2 separate regions of the Homo sapiens genome follow, and region 2 is linked to region 1. Evidence: promoter capture Hi-C in 16 types of primary human blood cells and fetal thymus (Javierre and others, 2016). All regions are on one chromosome and are shown on one strand. Each heading gives the region's core, a stretch centred on a gene start or on the middle of the fragment in contact. The rest is flanking DNA. Distances are from core to core; before and after follow the strand shown. Region 1 holds the start of CCSER2 (coiled-coil serine rich protein 2). Region 2 holds the start of KIF20B (kinesin family member 20B).

Region 1 (2,700 bases), core at 66-2,565:
TTTAGAACACAAACGAAAACAAAAAATAACAGTAACAAGCTTTCATAAATTAAGAGAAACAGTAATAAAGTCCAAGAGGAAGAAGACTGATTTCAGGCAAACACTCAGGAATATTTACATTTTTATCACATATGGATGACGGATAAGACATGTTTTGAACCCATCTTTTGCAGGAGAGCATCTTAAGTTCCTTTTGGTTAAAGAGCAGCTGCCATCTCTAAAGTCTCTAGTCTAAAAGATGATGCTTTAAAAAAAACAACTGGCCAAATGAATAGGTTCCGTCATATTTTAATGCTCAGGAGAAAAGGAATGCTTTTCATATGGCTATTTTAAAAAGCTTAAAGCTCAATTTCTCTCTTACAGGAGTGAGCTACCAACACTCTAATCTGAGACCAGAGTCCCTGCGTCAGTCATTTCCACTCCGCTAAGGCCTTGTCTGGGAGCAGCCAGCCTCATTGGTCGGGGAGCCCACACAGATGAATATGCAATTACTGAAATGGAAACAAGCTTCGCCACCAAGGACCACCACAAAGGAGTCCCTTCATTCCTCCTTTTACTTTATCAAGAAAGTAGGTGCATTATTTAAAAATGTATGAAAATACATGTCTAAAGACAAGAGAGAAGATCTGAACCTACGGCAACGGTGTGCCCCACCAAAGTTTCACCTCAGGATGTGTTTTAGGGTGTGTCTTTCATTTAGCCCAGTAATTGAAAGAAAAAAAAAATCGAACTCATTCGGGGAGCCCCGGTACTTTCCCTATCCACCCTCACACGCAACCAGGCTCCGAAATCAGAGTGCCTCAGCCTCGCCCTGATTTCTCCTGAAAGGCGGCGGCGCCCGCGGCCCGAGGCCCCGCGCTGTCACAGCCGCAGGGAGGGCGCCCTCCGGCCTCCCGGGTCCGCGCCCGCCCCGCGTCCGGCGGCTCGCGAGGGGCTAGAGAGGCTCACCCTGGAGGCCGGGTACGGGAGGGCGACACCGCCTCAGCCCGGGAGTTCGGGCCTCCGCCCCGCCCCGGACTGCGTGCCTGGTCTTGGGCTGCCCCCGGCGCCCGCCGCGACCCCGGCCCCGGCTCTGGCCCTGAGCCCGGATCTCACCGTGCGGAGGTCGCGCTGCCTCCTCGGCCGCGGCCCAGCTGCAGGCCGCCCTGCGACCTGCGGGCCCGAGGACGGAAGGTGAGACGAAGGGCCGCCCGTCACATCCCCGCCAGCCCCGCCGCCCGAGCCGCAGCAACCAGCATCGCGTCCGCGGCCTGAGGGAGCGCCGGACTCCAAAGCCGCCGCGCCCCCTCCCTCGGCCGGCGCCCGCCCGGACTCCGCCCTCCAGGGCCGGCGCACCGCGCACGCGCAGTCCCGCCCCGCCGCGGGCCCGTGCGCAGGCGCGAGCCTCACGGGGCTACGGGGACCGCCCCCACCGCCTGATCCGGCCTCAGCCCACCTCTGGCCCCGCCCCGCCCTCACGCCAGGCTTTCCCAAGCTCCGCCTCCGCTTCGGGCCCCGCCCCCTCCACTGACCTTGCCTGGCCGCCTCCTGACTCAGGTTTTTGCTGGGCCCACGCAGTGACGCCAGTCTTGCGGCTGACCTCACCTCTAGCCGTCCCCTGGACTACATTTGCTGCTTGAGTGCGGTCAAACCTGACAGCTCCTCCTCCTGGATGTGAAAAGTGAGGAGTGGTCTGAGCATTGGGCATGACTGAACCACGCACCTGCCTACCGCATCAAAACACAGGATCTTGCTAAAGCTGAGGGGAAGGGGCACCCCAAGTGCTGATCTGGTTTTCCCTTTTTTTTTTTTTTTTTGAAACAGAGTCTCGCCCTGTCACCCAGGTTGGAGTTCGGTGGCGCTATCACAGCTCACTTGCAGCCTCCTGGGCTTAAGCGATCCTCTCGCCTCAGGCGTGTATCACCAAGCCTCCGAAATAATTACAACTAAGACCACACTAGTCAAAGTAAACTATCACAAGTTGACCCAAATACCCGGCTAATTTTTATTTTTTCTTTTTAGAGTTGGGGGAAGTGGTCTTACAGGCTAGTCTCAAACTCCTGGGCTCAAGCAATCCTCCCACCTTGGCCTCCCAAAGTGTTGGGATTACAGGCGTGAGCCACAGCTCCTGGCCAATGTGGTTTCTTTGCCAGAAACCAGGTCTTTCTTCCCTTTGGGGCTTCCATCCCCCAGAGGCCATCTCTTCCCCTCTTGTTTTTCCTCGACGCGGCCAGTCCTGCTGCTGAGAGTCCTCAGCCTGGAAGGCTTCCGGGCCTGGCCGGCTGTTTAAAGCTCTGGAGTTGCCCTTACCTGGTTGTAGACTTGCAGTTCTCTGAAATCCTCGTCGGCCCCAACAGCTCGGTTGTAATAACATTTCAGGAGAACTGCTTGAAAAATATCCAGTTCTTTCCTGTCTCCAGATCAATGATACTCAAATGGAAAAAGCAGACGGAATGCCTGATTTGTATAACCACACTTCATTTAATAATACACTTTCATATTTAGAAAATAATGTCTTTTAAATATCAATCCCTAAGATATTTAATGTATTGGACAATAATGTGTGCTTAAAATATTGACAAAGACTAGGTCTAAATGCTGTGCAATCTCTCTTTGGATTAAGTGAGATTAGAAAAGCAAACACCAGGCCGGAGGCGATGGCTCAAGCCTGTAACCCCAGCACTTTGGGAGGCCAAGGTGGGAGGATCACAAGGTCAGGAG
Region 2 (2,700 bases), core at 107-2,606, 5.4 Mb before region 1:
GATTTTAGATGACTTCTACTTATACGTGGCCTTCCCAACTAAACTGGAAACTTCTTGATGGCAAGAACCTTGCCTTATACCACTCTGTATCCCCTATAACAAATTCAGCGACTTATGCAGGGATAAAGACTACCTAATGACTTAAAATAATGGTTATAAAGAAAATACTATTCCAAAAAAAAAAAAAAAAGTCGGTCCTAGTCTGTAATATTATCTTTCGTGACAGCAGGCTCCAAGACCTCATTTTTCATTTCAAAAGGCTGCTCTGACTGGAAAACTGCATATTTACCCTCTCTCCAATAAGAATCCACAATTGGAGACTTTGGTGAAAAATAGCAGAATCTGTTGCTGAATGAGGTTTCTGAATGTGGTCTACAACACAAAGCCTCAAAAAAAGTCTTCACAACTAATCGATGAGTATTTTATGTTATTTTTACAATTTAAAATCTGGAGTCTTGGACATGTAAGATAAATACACTGTTACACTACCTAACCCATAAGGCGTGAACTTCTGTAAACTAGTAGTTTAGCAAGAAATATAAGAGAACTGTGCCAGACATGCATCACTGAACCAGCGAGCGAATCGAGATGGAGAAAGCCTTCTAAACTGGGGAATGACAGCAGTCACTGTGCCACAAACTCTTCAGCCTGGCACTGCAAAACCCTAGAAGGGCAAGCCCCAAGGACCAGTAGGAGTAGTCTGGAAATAAGTGCACAGAGGCTACCACAGGGCTCCCCCCGCAAAAAGGCCGTGTTACCTACCAGCCGAGCAAACTGCTCACCTCAGAGCTTCAGAAAACTAGGTGTGGCAAAACAGGCCTGTTCCTCAACAACAACAGAAGCAACAACAATAATAATATTAATAACTGCAAACATTTAGTACCTACTGTGTGCCAGCACTAATAACTTTACACATTACCATTTAATCTTCACAAAAGCCGAAAGAAATAGACACTTCATTGCAGCCTTTTAACTGATAAGAAAACTAAGGTACAGAGAGAGATTAAATGAATTGTCTTGCGTCACTCAGCTAATTAGCAGTGGAGGCGAGATTTAAACCGTAACCGAATTAGTATGACTCATTCCTCGCTGCGTACCCCGTGTTCGCATCGCTCCGCAACCCAGTTCCTGACAGTAACCTCCACTGGGGTATGAGCCCTGTCGGAACATGTCCACATTGCCAAAGCCGTTTCCCCACCTTAGGCCCCATACATGCGCAGTCACCCACCTCCTTCCCCACACATTCCCGCGGGTCACCTCCTCACCTGCAAACTTCGCCTGACTAGCCAGACCCGCGAGCAGCACTGCGATGTTACCGTTTTCAAATTCAAACAATGGCGGCCAGGGCACCGCACTGAACGCTGGGAGTAGGTGGGGCGTCCAGAGCTCCGCCAGGGAGCGTAGCCGGCTCGCGCTGCGGGCTTTCCAGTGGCTACCGGAAGAAGCTCTCCAATATGGGGGCGGGTCTTGAAACGCGGGCAGCCAATGGGCGGAAGCAGGCGTGGGCCGCCCTGGTGCTGACGGTCTGGTTTGCCTCCCAGCTCTGCTAGCCGGGCTTTAGTAGTGCGCTTTCTCGCGGCTGTCATAAGTACCACGCTGTTGACTGGGACACCGATCTCCAATTCTGTCCTTGAGGCAATAAAGATGTGGCGAAGGCCCGAGGTGAGGCCACTGCCACTGCACTTAGTCCTGCGACTCCCCTAAGGACGGGCCGAGGAATGGCGGGCTAGCCACTTCCCAGTCCTGTCCCTACGGGGCAGAAAAAGGCTCGGCATCCCGGGATCCGGAGGGTCACTTCCCTCGCTGCATCCCCATTGTGCAACTGCCAGTCTAAAAATTGATATAGGTAAGCTTATGAATGCTAAAACTAATGAATGCAAGATGCTAAAACAAACAATTAACTGAAAGGTTGTAGGGAAGAGGATGTTAGTATCTCAAAGAATCACCCTACAGATCATTTCTTATTATAAAGGGAAAATAGAATTTTACACTGAAGAGATTTATTAGACATACCTTAACCAAGTGAAGATACTTAGCATCGCTAATATCACCCGATAGTATTTGTGCTAGAAATGTTTGACATTAATCATGAGGAAACAATCAGAAAAAAACAATGTAGAATATTCTACAAGACAACAGGCCTAGGCTCTTCAAAAATGTCAGTGTCATGACAGGAAAAAGAAAAAAACGAAGTGGAAAATTACTTTAGTCGAGAGTCAAAAGAAACCAAATGAAATTTGTGAATCTTGGCTGGTTCATAGTTTTTAAAAAAAAAAAAAAACTTCGAAAGACATTTGTGGACAACTGGGGAAATTTAAATATGAACTACATATTAGATGATATTGAATCAGTTTTAAATTGATTGCATGTGAGAATTAATTTGTGATTAAGTGGAAGAATGCCTTTGTTTTTGGAAGGCGCTTGCTAAAGTAATTAGCAGCAAAGTGTCACAGTGTTTGCGGCTTACCTTCAAAAGATATGGCAAAAAAATAGAGAAAGCAAATGTGGCAAAATATTAGTAATTGGTGAATCTAGTTGAAGGGTATAATGGTGTACATCGTACCAGTCTTGCAACTTTCTAAAATAACAGATTTTATAAAATAAAAAGAGGAGGGGGGAAAAGGAATAGAATTCTGATCTTTACCATGGCCTCCCAGGTCCTGCACAATCAAGTGTCAGCCGACCTCACTCCCCACTAAC

Evidence for each region. The method cuts DNA at HindIII sites, captures the fragments that hold promoters and counts their contacts. A CHiCAGO score of 5 or more calls a contact.
Region 2: a contact is called between the fragment with the promoter of KIF20B here and the fragment with the promoter of CCSER2 in region 1, in 2 of 17 cell types (total CD4 T cells and neutrophils). The highest score is 9.5, in total CD4 T cells.

Annotation. Positions count from the first base shown.
Region 1 is chr10:84,327,204-84,329,903 of GRCh38, reverse strand. It overlaps CCSER2 (coiled-coil serine rich protein 2), which reads right to left and starts at 1,315. Exons shown (of 10, transcript NM_001284240.2): 1 at 1,096-1,315. RefSeq lists an enhancer at 422-771 and a silencer at 822-1,551. The HindIII fragment of the contact is 12,289 bases long and covers 510-2,700 here.
Region 2 is chr10:89,700,246-89,702,945 of GRCh38, reverse strand. KIF20B (kinesin family member 20B) reads right to left here and starts at 1,356. Exons shown (of 33, transcript NM_001284259.2): 1 at 1,266-1,356. RefSeq lists enhancers at 678-1,194, 1,195-1,710 and a silencer at 1,755-1,834. The HindIII fragment of the contact is 4,302 bases long and covers 1-1,853 here.